Linked DNA regions of Homo sapiens: all the other regions are linked to region 3. The links are contacts of gene promoters, found by promoter capture Hi-C in blood cells and fetal thymus (Javierre and others, 2016). All regions are on one chromosome and are shown on one strand. Each heading gives the region's core, a stretch centred on a gene start or on the middle of the fragment in contact. The rest is flanking DNA. Distances are from core to core; before and after follow the strand shown.

The links. Contacts are between HindIII fragments. The CHiCAGO score rates a contact against its expected background, and 5 or more counts as called.
Region 1: a contact is called between a fragment that was not itself captured here and the fragment with the promoter of CPO in region 3, in 2 of 17 cell types (fetal thymus and erythroblasts). The highest score is 6.0, in fetal thymus.
Region 2: a fragment that was not itself captured here is called in contact with the fragment with the promoter of CPO in region 3 in 7 of 17 cell types (M1 macrophages, erythroblasts, naive CD4 T cells and 4 more); the score reaches 6.8 in M1 macrophages.

Annotation. Positions count from the first base shown.
Region 1 is chr2:207,457,864-207,462,338 of GRCh38, forward strand. No RefSeq gene overlaps it. Among named protein-coding and RNA genes, the nearest start is that of CREB1, 70 kb to the right of the region's middle. RefSeq lists an enhancer at 2,626-2,675. The HindIII fragment of the contact is 1,585 bases long and covers 1,378-2,962 here.
Region 2 is chr2:207,478,425-207,482,855 of GRCh38, forward strand. No RefSeq gene overlaps it. Among named protein-coding and RNA genes, the nearest start is that of CREB1, 49 kb to the right of the region's middle. The HindIII fragment of the contact is 1,328 bases long and covers 1,315-2,642 here.
Region 3 is chr2:206,937,798-206,942,746 of GRCh38, forward strand. It overlaps CPO (carboxypeptidase O), which reads left to right and starts at 1,721. Exons shown (of 9, transcript NM_173077.3): 1 at 1,721-1,870. The coding sequence starts at 1,803. The HindIII fragment of the contact is 5,939 bases long and covers 1-4,003 here.

The DNA.
Region 1 (4,475 bases), core at 920-3,419, 520 kb after region 3:
AGTGTGGTCAAATAATGAGTAATGCTAAACCTAGAGTTATACTTAGGAGCGTATTATTGATATGAAAATGTGAGATTTTTAAAAGTCTAATGTTATCAGTAACAATTCTGGCAATTATGTTAAAATGTTGTATCCACAGAAATAACTAAATTTCCTTGTCAACTGCTGACTATAATGAACTCTCATCAGATTTTTAACCATGGCCATATTAAGTCTTTGTCATCTACAGGCCATTACTGTTTTGATTTTTGTCTAAAAGTATTGGCAATCAGCGATAGTCCAAAACTGCTTTTCTTCGAAAAGATTCATAGAAAAGACTTTGACAAATACCCTTGAATACAGGTTTCTAATAACCATAAGATCATACCATTGGACTGTGTGAGAATTTTCAGAACTCTAATGAAGAAATGAATGGCTTCATGAAACTGCCAAGCAAGATCAAGCAGATCAAGAATTAATTACGTGAAACTGAACTGATGAAGGTAATGTTTTCATGACTTTTAATTTGAAATTTTTAAATTTGAAATTTGGTTCTTATTGTAAATGTTTCCTTTTACAGATTTAAAGAAACTATTTCTCTTAAGCTTTCTAGAGCTTGCAGAGATCTGGTAGCATATACTTTTGTGAACAGAATTGGAACAATTACTTTTTCTTCCTACCTGATCCTGCTAGGACTCAGAAACTATTTGTGAGTATTCTTATTTTTATGGCAATATAATTATTTATACTAGTTTAATAAAAATCTGTTCTCCTTGTAACAGGGCACAATTGGAAATACTGGTTATGTTACCTTACCAAGGCTTTGACTGGAATATTCTATTTTCAAATATGACAGACAACTTTAAAGAACTAAGGTTGACTTTATGGAGCCAATAAAGCCCGCGCTTGGATAAACTGGCCTGGTACTTTGAAAGCATCGTTCATATGGTTGCCTTAGAGGTAGGTAAAGAATGTCACCTCCTGGCAGGACCAGGAACCTCAGGATATTTTGGGGACCTAAAGCAGAGAGGAATTCAGCAAAATCTAGAAGTACTTCAGGTGAATTTTTTTTTTCTTTTTTTTTTTTGAGACGAAGTCTCGCTCTTCTCCCCCAGGCTGGAGTGCAATGGCACAGTCTCGGCTCACTGCAAGCTCCGCCTCCCAGGTTCAAGCAATTCTCCTGCCTCAGCCTCCCGAGTAGCTGGGATTACAGGCGCCCGCCACCACGCCCAGCTAATTTTTGTATTTTTAGTAGAGACGGGGTTTCACCATGTTGGCCAGGCTGGTCTCAAACTCCTGACCTTGTGATCCGCCCGCCTCAGCCTCCCAAAGTGCTGAGATTACAGGCATGAGCCACCATGCCCAGCCACTTCAGGTGAATTTTAATGGTGAATCTTAAGCTTGGCCTCCTGGCCTCAAGAGGCTTTTCAATGTCTAATCTGAGATTCCTTATAAAACGTTCCAGCAAAGCAAATTTAAAGACAGCCTATGTGGCCAATCACTACTCTTGCTGAACTTGTATAAATAATCAGGTCAAGTTTAATGAAACTAAATTTATTTTGCAAACAAATTAGTTTTACTTTGATTATCTTTGATAGAGATGAAGGTGACTATAGAGAGAAAAATTTTGTTTCAGAAGAAAAGTATAGTGCACCCAGTATTAGATGCTAGCTCATTGTTTTTGAGAGTTTGTTATCCACCTGAAATCTGTGCTGGATCCTGAATTTCTCTAGTTTCTTCCAATATCTGGCTATGACTCACCAAACGAATATTTCCAATTTTTATCCCAGTCTTCTGGCTTGGAATCACTAAAAATTAAAGCACCCCTTTTTCTGAAGCCCTGCAAGGTGAAATTAGATGGCTTGATACAGACTTCAGAGAAATCACTACAACAGCTATGTAGAGATAACCTTCGGGCCTGCTGCTATATGGACTACTCAGAAAGCTCACTGGAACACCTGAAGCAAACTTTTGTAAACAAGGAAAATCTGTCAGATCATCACTGCCTGCCCCTGCTCCAGCTGGAAAGGCTTTAAGTCCAGCATCTAGAAATCTTGACTGGCTGCCCTCTAGAATTAAAAACTGAGTTTATAGTTTGTTCTAACCATTACACTTATTTTTGTTGTTATTATTGTTTCCATAGAAATGCCTCTTGTTACATATCTGATTGTTTGCACTGCATTAGTGCCTAACTTTAGTGGAAGCCCATTTGCAACACCTCTGCCTGAAGTGAGACAACTGCTAACTGTTTAACTCGACTGAGCTTAGGACTGAGAGGTCTGGTTCAATAGCTAATGAGAATCCACCAAACCAATTTCTGGATGTGAAACTTCTTGAGGAAGTTTCAGACAGGGGACTATCGGGGCTCAGAAAATGAAATCTCAAAGTATGGCACTTTGGCAAGCTGAGTACTTTGATCTAGAAAATATCAGAAAGCCTCGGAAGCATGATCTCTATGACCTTTTCCCCGCCCTCCTGTCTCTCACCTCTCTTTCTCCCCTGAAGTGAGGCATAGAAACCAAAATTTCTCTTCCCCAAGGCGGGCCATAGAAACTAGAACCCCTATCCCCCAAAGCAAGCCAAAAAACCTAGAAAGGTCATTCTCTCCCTTTGCCCTTCTTCCTTGAAGACCCTCATTCCAGAGGGGTCCTGTCCCACACCCAGGAGGAAAGAATGCTACACAGAGAGGCCAAGAAGACTCTGAACAGACAGGCCTTGCTGGGTTTTCCCCTGCAGTCTACTATCATTCAATCGTACCCTTTTTGTCCAACACATTTCTATATGGCTGTCCATTCTTCATCAAACATAAGCATACAAATAGATCATTTTTCCTGGGTCTTTGGTCTTCATTTCTGAGGCTCCTATGTAATGTAAAACTTTAAATAAATTTGTTACGCTTTAACCTGCCTCTTGTTGTAGGAGTGCAGGCCATGACTCTTATGAGGGGTAAGGAAGGGCATTCATTATACATTTCACCCCTACAAGCTTGAGGAATCAAAAGCAGTTAAGCAGATCTCAAAACTGACAGATTAATTGCCATTAATACATATTTTTATTCTTAAAGTTTCTTGTTAAATTACCCTAGAAGTTAAGAAAAACTTTACAATTATCCCAGTCATGAATTTGAATTGATTTAAAAAATAAACAAAAAACAATCAAACCAAAAAAAACACAAAAGACTGGAAATTGGGAGAAATTTCCATTTTAATCCATTTATAAAGAAGCAATGAAATGCTGATAATAGCAAGAGCGTTCAATATATCAACAAACCACAAATCAAACGAGAATAAAAACAAAATTCAAACTTGAGACAAGCAAGGTGAAGACAGATTAGATTTTAAACTGTTTTACAAATTCTCTCAAAATATGTTCATACTCGTCTCTAGCAGCCATGTCTTTAAACTCTTCATATGAAAAGTGCCTATTGTACATTAATTAGATGGAATATTTACAATTGCATGTATTTGTGAATAATATATAAAGTATTTGCATGTTATAAAATACTTCAAATATGATCTGGCCAAGTTGGGAATCACTTCTATTTTTTAGTCAAATGAATCCGGTTTTCCCACTCATTTCTGTTATAAATCAGAAATGCATTCCCAAAGAAAACAAAAAAGAAAGTTTCTGCCCCTCCCCCAAAATAATAATGGTAAGAACGTGGCCAGTTCTGTGGCCTTTCTGGAATTGTGGGCCCTAGTATATTGAGCTCCTCGGAAACTAAAAACATTTGCATTTTTAATGTGGAAAGGTATCAATGTGTACCTCTCCTTATGTGAGTAAATTTGTAACTTCCCACATCTGGTTTATGTAAAAGTAATACCTATAAAAAGTCACAAAAGGTAGACAACAAAATACATTAAAGACAGACCATTAACCCTCACACATATAGAATGAAATAACAGCATACTATGAACTCATATAATAACAGTATTCCAAAACTTTAAACTTCTCCTAATATTTGTGGTTCTTCTCCCATGAGAATAGTCCTAAAGCCCTTGGCCAGAGATGTGGGCACCCGGGGAATGAGACCAAGAGAGAGAATGAGCTAAAACTAAATTACACCTTCAGTTTTGCCACTAATATTCTCTAGGACTTGGTCAGTGGCTTATCCTCAGAGCATCTTAACTTACCCATGGGCAAAAGGACCTCAATGCCTTTCCTGCCAAACTCTAAAAGAAAATGAAAGTCACTCTGAATCCCTGTTATAAAGGTCCTATAAATATCTATAGCTGTTATTATTATAGGAAAACATGCTTCAGCCCCAGATACAACTATTTCAGCTACACACGCAACACAACCAGGGAGAGAAGACAAAAGCTCGCTTTCACTAAGTAACCGTATGAACTGGAATATAGTCAGTGGTCACCCGTGTAATATTTTTATTATCCATAGTAGGCTAAAATATAAAATATATAAAAGACGCAGCCTATACATTAACAAGTATTCAAGGTAAAAAGGAAGAGGGCAAAAACACACACAATAATAAGACAAAA
Region 2 (4,431 bases), core at 729-3,228, 540 kb after region 3:
ATAAAAATTAGAAAATCCCTGGGAAATATTTTTATATCACCAGCAAATATCCTGACTAGTCAAAGTGAGGCTTGCCATCAAAAGGAAGTCAGGATTCATCTATTTCTATTATGACCTTTCATTTCCTGCTGCATATTATAGTACATAGTAGACATTCAACAAATGTGGTTGACTGATGGATGGATTCATTTAACCGGTAATTATCAAGCAAGCACTATCAGGCAGACTGATCCAAGCACTATGGGAAGTGGGACTCGGCCTCCCTCTCTTACGACAGACTGGGCATGTGTAAACTTCTGTGCCTATGTTGCCCCATCAGCAATCTGGGGTTTCTAACTCCTAACATCCTCTAGTAATTTTGTTCATTGTAGTGAAAAACTGTCACTATACTCCTGGACTGAAGATTGCTGTAAGACAGTGGTTCTCAATGGGAGGCAAAGGCATTTGTTGAATGTCTACTATGTACTATAATATGCAGCAGGAAATGAAAGGTCATAATAGAAATAGATGAATCCTGACTTCCTTTTGATGGCAAGCCTCATTTTGACTAGTCAGGATATTTGCTGGTGATATAAAAATATTTCCCGGGGATTTTCTAATTTTTATGTTTTTAACTGTAGGAGAAGAAAAATATCTTTTCCTTTACCCATCATAGGTTGATGGCTGAGGTCCCCACGGCAATGGGAGGCAATATTGCTCCCCGGGGACATTTGGCCATGTCAGAATACACCGTTTATTGTCACACTAGAGGAAGGGGTCCTACTAGCATCTAATAGGGAGAGGCCATGGATGCTGTTAAATAGCCTATAATGCACAGGCAGCTCCTCCGTCCCAAACAGAGTTAGCAGCGCTGCGGTTGAGTAGAAAAATGCTCTAAGTTCACACATAAGTGTCATAAAGATCTTTGTGGGGTCACAAGGATGAAGGTCATCAACTTCATGCATAATGATTGAAATGGGAGGGGTCTAGCAGATCCAAACTACTTGATTATTTGATATTTCACAAAATACTGACTAATCTGCGTCATAATAACTATTGCTTACTGTCAAATGAGATTATTATCTCTTCTTAAAAGCCCATGTGTTTGAACTCTGTGGAAAGTAACACCACAAGAAAAAAAATCAGGGAGAGTTTGAAGAACTGTTTGTCACTGTTTACATTTCCCTCAACCCAGGAAGATGAGAGAAATTCTTGGAGCTTTCTAAATGCTTTGCTCGAATAAAGTGAAACCCACATCCACAACATCAAACATGCCAACAAGACATCACTCCCTTGAAATTCAAAGAGAAAAATACTCTCAACAAGAACTGTGGAAGCTTAGGGTAGTATAAATGTTTTAAATGATTTTCTTAAAAAAAAAACCTTACTCTGAAAACTAGTATCCTTAACAAAGGAAGATCAACTCTACATAAGAATTTTAAAAACACTCAGGTGGAAGTAGAACAAAAGCAAGAAGATATATTTAGACACAAATGCTGTAACTGTTTTCCATTGACAATCATTCCAGAAAATTTCTCCAATTAGGCAAATAAAGGGGTTTTAAAGGCATTCTCAGATGTGCTTATTAGTGTGGATTATTGTTTCTTTTTTGTTTGCAAACAGTATAAGACAAAATGGAGTTTCATCAGTCAAGGAGTTATTCAAGATAAAAATTAACAAATTACTTTTTCGGGTGAAAACTTTTACTCACTTTTTAAAATCTAATTTCCACTCTACCTAAAGATAAGTTATGAAATCAGTACTGTAGAAAGGGAGAAAGAGAGCACATATGTGGCACCTTTGCTTTTATTGTCTTCGAGCCAAATCCTTGACATTCATTATTAATATATTATGGTCATAATAGATATTACAATCAAAAATCATTTGCCCGATTGTTCCCTTTTTGACCCATAGGTCACAGAGTATCCTATTTATAATTCTGCTTTAGAAAGAAGTTTAAGAAAGGGACAAAATAGCCTCACCGCTTCATTGATTAACAAGTTGAGTTGAGTTTCTAAGCCCCTGACCTCACTCTAGATTTGGTGCAGCAGAGAGAGAGAGCTGGACACTCAGGAGAGGTCTGGGTAGAGTATTAGCCAAGGACAAAGCACTATACTGGCTCTCGTGTAGCTTAGATACCAAGTGAAAAAAATGATATGAGAATGTAATGAAAGCCTAATAAAATCCATTTCAAACCACTGCAGGGTAGGGTCAAGAGTCCTAGGGAGAGTCCAGACAGGGACACGTGTGACCGCTGAAATTAACATCTCACCTGGCAAGCCCCACTGCTTCACTTTGATTGGCACCCAGCTCAAGAGCTCATCACAGTGGTTCGAGGCATTCAACCTGCTGGGCTCCTTTTCTCACCAACTCAGCTGCTCCCCTTGTCCAACCCTCAGGGATTCTTTCTCTGGCCCAGTGAAAGATGACCAAGCAGACACAGCAAAATATGTTTTTAGAGGAAGAGGAAGAAGAAAAGGAGAAGGAGACCATGGAAGCACTTGTGAAAACATGTTTGGGAGAAAAACAAGCCTGGACTTCTAGACTGATACTATTTTGCTTCTAAATAAACCATTGGAAAACACTACATAATAGTAGCTAACTTTTATTGAGTGTTTACTACATGCCAAGCTCTTTCTAAATACTTTTCATATGTTAGCACAAGCTTCACATCAGCCCCTGTAGTTTGTACAGTTATTGCCCCACTTGTTGGATGGGGAAAGTAGGACACACACCCTTGGTTACACTAGTAAATGGCAGACCTGGAAGAGGAATCCAGGAAGCCTGACTTCAGAGCCCAGGCATGCTCCTAATTGTCTTCATCTCCCCTTGTCTATCCAATGCCTATGCTGGATGGCCATTGCTATGGCATGTTTTATAGAGAGAAAATGAGAAGCACAAAAGCTGTATGACCATCCACAACCCTGATGCTATGAAAACCCAAGTATCTAATGCCTCCATTGTTTTTCTGCACCACTGGGCATATTTAACCAAATAATTTGATGAAAATAGTCCTGGAACCAAATCCAGTGTAGCAGTACAATAATAGCACGAACAATAGAAAGCAAAACACAGATGAAGAATTGTGCTCTTTTTATCAGTTGGATTGTTCTCTAATCATTTCATATATATGAATGTCTGAAATTGCAACTATAAATCCCTCAAGGATAGGAATATATATTTCTTTTTAAATATCATAGAACACTGACATGTAGTATGATTGATAATTACTGGTTAAATGAATCCATTCATCAATCAACCACATTTGTTGAATGTCTACCACGTACTATAATATACAGCAGGAAATGAAAGATCGTAACAGAACTAGATTAATTCTGACTTCCTTTTGATGGCAAACAGGATAACATAAATACCTTCAAAATCAAAAATAAAAGTATTCTCCCTTTTTTTCTTATCAAGAGAACTCAAATCCATTTGGGGTGGCAAGGTACTCGGTTTAAAAACCCTGCCCTGACCTGGATTATTCCCTGATGGTTAGAGGAGGCCATGGAATTAGTGCTGGCTGATTAAATGTAAGCAAAAAATCACAGGGTGGAGCTGCCAGGAAAGCTTTTGAAAAAGGCACCAGCTCTGCAGGTCTCTGCCTCTCTACTTCTTCTTGCCTGGCATAAACACATGGCTGAGTTTCCAGCCAGGATGACTGTGGAGAAGCAGGAAGGAGCCCAGGTCCTAAGTGACCTTCATAGATACCAGCACCTGCCCTGGACTGCCCTGCTCTGGGTTCATGTCACATGAGGAAAATATCCACCTTCCTCGTATAAGCCTAGGAAGCCAGGTTTCTCTTCCATGCAGCTGAACCTAACCGCAATTGCTGATGACTGCTTATCTGGTCTGTCCTCCCTCGCCCCTTACTGGTTTTGAGAAGCCAGTAAAATTCTTCTAATTCTGTATATACAGCCACAGGCAGAGATATTTTTAAAGGGGAAAGAAACTCAAGGAGATACAATAATTACTAATTACACATTATATAACTCTTACAGGTTTGATTATTTTTGGAAATTATTTGGAAGAAAAACAGTAGATATTTTATAACATTTTTTTCTTCAAGGTCCCCATCTGTTTATTTTTTACACCTTTTTGATGAAATCACTGTTCATATTATTTGCCTCTTAAAAGTTTCTCGCATATGAAGTTTTTGAATGATCTCCCACTAGACTTTCTAGTTGATTTTAATTACTATTTCTTGTTCCAAAACTAAACTGTATCATGACATCTGGGATCTTCTAGATAATATTAGATTTGAAACATTATGTAGTTTATTCTTAGAGTTGAAATCAAGTCTTCATATAACTTCTAAGGCACTTATTGAAATGACTGCTCAAAAAAAAATTGCTAAAGGAATCAACTTGTTCTCTCAGATGTTTAAATAGTATCCTAGTCATCACTTAAACAACGTTGCATAGTTAGCCTTGTACTCATATAGCATAAGCA
Region 3 (4,949 bases), core at 471-2,970:
ATCTACTGAAATTGCTCTTTTCAAGGTCTCCAGGAGCCTCTATCCTGCTGGTTATGATTGGTTAGTTCTTCGTCCTCGTTTGACCAGTGGGTAACTCCCATTTTTTTTGTTTTTAATGCTTTCCTCATTTGGCTTCTGGGACACAATAGTCACCCATTTTTTAACTACCTCACTGGCTGTTCTTCACAATTCCCTCGCTGGATTCTTCTCTTCTACCAAGTCCTCTAAATGTTAGGTCAGCCCAGGTCTCAGTCTTTGTCTTTCTCTGTCTATACCCACACCCTAGATGAACTCCTCTAGCCCAGTGGCTTTAAACACCATCGTGATATTGTGATACAATAGGAAATACATATTTTGTCTTTGTCCCTGGTTCCTGACACAGAGCTCCTAAAACCCTTGGAATTTCCTCAGTGATAAGATCAATAAAGGTGAAAGGGCCATTTTTGTTATTCATGACGTCCCTTTTGACTATGTCTAAGTTTAAGTGAACAGGTAACTTTTGGAAAGTTTCTAAGGATAGCGGCTGGTTGCCAGGAGAATCAGCCATGTTATTCAGTAATCCCCTCCCATCTCTGGGGAGGAAAGAGGGACTGGAGATTTATTTAATCACCAATGACCAATGATATGATCAATCATACCTATGTAATGAAGTCTTCATAAAAACACAAGGGAACAGAGTTTGGAGAGCCTCTGGGTTGCTAAACACATGGAGGGACTGGGTGGATGGCATGCCTGGAGACAGCATGGAAGCGCTTATCTCCTCTAGTTTTTTAACTGCATTCTCTTTACTTGAAACTGTAACATTTGTTTGTATACTCGTTTATTTTTCTCTCAACTCTACTGTGAGTTCCATAAAAGAAGGGACTCTGCCTTGTTCACCCTTGTATCTTAAGTATCTAGCATAGTGTCTGGTATACAGTGGTACTCATGAGATTTTTGTAGAATGAATACATGAATACAGGGCAGAAGATTTAAACTGGGTCCCTAAATGCCAAGGACTCCATTTAAATACTCTACCTGCTCTGCGCTAAAGTTTGCCTTGCTCAGTTAGACTATTAGCAATGGTCTTAACATGAGTCTTTAATTTTACTGGTCAATGAGATTCAAGCATAACTTGGCTATGTCTGAAAACATGGCGGAGTATCTGACAGAGTCCTTCATGTAAGAGGGGCGTGGGGTAAAATCCACATGGGAAAGGATTGAAACTGTCTTCACTGCTCAGATTTGAAGAGATCTGGGTTTGTTTAAGAAGCTGGTGATGTGGTTCATCAGAAAAAGAGAAGGCATTTGACCCCAATCAAAGCCTTAGATTGAAGGAGGAAGTGGAGATTCTGAATAATGACCATGTCCATTTTGACCAGAGCAGAGTGTTCTTTCTGGTCTCATGAACAGGCTCATGATTCACAAAGACTAGCCTACTATTCCCATTCAACCTGTGTGAGGGGAAGAGCAGGAATGATTGCTCCTGAGCACGAGTGATGGGGGTTCCTAGAAATACTCCAAGGTGACTTTACATAGGGAGGAAATTTATTTCAGGATCTGGTGAAGTTGAGAGCTCACGTAAATTTGGTTTTAGAGAAGAAATGAAATATCAAATGGTACAGCATTTCCCACACTGGAAAAGGTGTTTGAGGACATGAGAGAGTTAATAAAGCAATTGCCCGTGACTTTCTGCTGAGACATCCACTAACTGATTTATCTCATCTTGATTGTGGGAGCCACAGTCTTGATGCATTCATTCTCAAGGACACTTGATCCACTGCCAGAGAGGCCCAGAATTTTCTAACTTACTGTGTGGCAGAATGAAGCCTCTGCTTGAAACCCTTTATCTTTTGGGGATGCTGGTTCCTGGAGGGCTGGGATATGATAGGTGAGTGTAAAGTGGGAAGAGGAACTGATTATTATAATTTAGATTGTCTAAATTGAATGGTTTCTTTTTAAGACCAATGCAGCTGGCTTCTCCTTCCTTGCTACTCATATATACCACCATGAGATGAGAATAATAAAGACCACTGAAATTTATCACTGAATAATCATAATCCTCTAATAATCCTTGAATAAATGAATAAATATCTAGCAAACATTTCCTAACACAATGCATGAGATATACAAATAGACATGTCATGTTTTGTGATTGGAAAAAGAAAATTGTAATACAAATTCTATATCCTTCATTTTCATAGTATCTCATTTGGTAAATCACATTATCCTAATTATTAAGAAAAATGTTAAAATGACCAAATAATTTCACCTAGAGATAAGTACTATTAATGTTTTCAGATAGCTACCTGATTATGTATGCAGCACTATTTCTGAAATATTTCACTTAAATTGTATTACAGAAATTTTCCTATGGCATTAGCAATTTATTTAAAACAGTTGAAATTGCTAATAATATTCTGTCATTTAGTCAATTCCTGCTTTTTCATTTTTACAAATAATGCTGTGATGAGCAACCAGCTACATAATTTTTTTTGCTTTTTGCAAATCTTTAATTATTTCTCTAAGAAGTGGAATTACTGGGTCAGTAACTGAGGAAAATGTAAGGATCTTGCTACACATTGCCCAATTACCCTCTAGAAAGATTACATCAGTCTACACTTCCAATAACAGTGTATGAAAGCACTTTTTAAGTGTTTGGCAAATTGACAAGTAAAAAATACACATTGTTGACTTCCTTTGTATTTTGTTGATTTATAAGAGTAAATATTTTATTACTAATTTTATCATTTTATAAATTGCCCATTAATGTCATTTGCCCATTTTTGTGGTCTCTCCCTACTCTTAATGAATCATAAGTTCTCTAAATACATTCTATTGAAATCTGTGTGTGTGTATGTGTGTGTGTATAGTTTCCATATAAAGTGTGTTTTTCCCTTGTTCATATGCAAATCATTATTTTGCTCATTTAGCATATCTCATGAAGTATATGTGGTTATAATTGGTATTTCCTCTTTTGCTTCATGGTTAAAGAAATCTTGCAATGAACTTGCTCTCACATAACATAGAAACCCACTCCAATTTTTGTCCCACAATAATTGTGTGACCTCAGCTTGTTCCTTATCTTCAGTTCAATTTCAGATACTTACAGAGTCCAGGATCTCTGTGATATCAAAAACCTGTTTGAATATTTCTTTCTCATTTTTCCATTAGTTTACTTGGTTTCATGTACATAGGGCATTTATTTTCCTTTCTGAAATTCCTCATCCATAAATTGGAAATGAAGACTCTTACATATTTTACAGGAAATACAAAAAAAATTATGCTGCTTAAAAATATCAAGAGCCTTAAAACATAAATCTTTTGGCCTAGTGTTCCTGCCTCTGGACATCTATACTGAGGAAATAAACTAAAGTCTGAAAGAGTTTTATGCAGCTCTGGGATACAACTTTATTTATAATATATATATTCTAATATTTGGAAACAACTTGAATGTCTATGTTAGGTTATGTAAATGCTGATATGTGATATAGGACAATGGGATATTATTCATGCAATAGAAAAATAAGTATAAAACTTTTTAATGGCATAGGAAAATGTATGTTTTATGCTAAAGGAAAGAGGCTGTATATAAATCTAATGGAGTACTTTAAAAAATAAAATAAAAATATGTACTAAAATGGTAATTGTTATCTTTGGTTGGTGATATTTTCTCCCTTCCCTCAACTATTATTCATTTTGCAAATATCGTACAATGAACATGACATAAAACTTTAATTTAAAAAATTAGATTCCAAGCCCAGGTTAAATTATTGAAGTGACTAGGCTCAGGCAGTGGGACTCAGATGAGACAGCTTCCATTGGATGGTTCCTCATGACTGCACTTGACCGTGCTTGTCTTTATTGGCTGTTTTTATTTAAATTATTAGTTATTGATATAAAAAATAATGGTCACTTTTATGTAACTCTCGCCAACTCAAAACATGTTAGCTGCAATTTTTGATAATCTTTATTCACTACATGTGATAATAGTCTAGAAAATTTAAAATTAATAAAGATTACAAGCTTTGTAATATTTCTCTTGAGCATTTAGGGAGGTAATCTCCCATATGTTATATATTGCATACATCCTGAAAAAGTGTAACTCTGTATAATCATTTGGGATTTAGCAATATCAATCAAATGGCTTGAAAATGTTCATCTTCTTTGATCTACTAATTCTTCTTTCTGGAACGTAGCTCAAGGAAACAATAAAAAATAAGAACAAAGATTTACACAATAAGGTATTATCTCTAGAATTATTTATAATAGTATAAAAACCAAAAGGGACATAGCTTTAATATCCAGCATAGAAGAAAATATTTAAATAAATGATACTATGTAACATATACTTACTGTCAAATAGTGTGCAACCATTAAAGAGTTTTCATTGGTTTGAGGAAATGTCTTTGGTAGAATACAGAATACAAAGAAACGAATACAAAATTATATATAGATATAATCTGCCCTGCATTTAAGAAAAATAAATGCACAGATAAAAGTCTGGAAGGAAACATGCCAAAATATCAGTAGCAGTTAACTCAGGGAGGTGGAATTATTGATAATTCTTCTCTTTTCTATTTTTCTCCTCCTTTTTTACCTCTCCATACCTTCTACGTTTTCCATGTTAGGCATATGTTAATTTTGTAAGCAGAAAAATAAAGTTTGAAAATACAGAACTATCATGAAATATTCATGTAACTATTTCTTCACCAAGTATTTAAAATACAAAATTTGCCTCAATATTCATTAGGATTTTTTTGCCTCTTTATACATTCCAGTCAAAATGCTATCAGACCATCATCTTTGATCTGCAGACTTTATTAATAATGTACCCCAAAGGATCATTTTCTCTATTAAACATTTTATGAATTCCTGTTCAAAAAGAATACACAAAGTACAATAATCTTTTCATTTGATCAGTGAGATGAGACTGGTGATAATTTGGGAGATTAGCCAGCTTTTTCCTC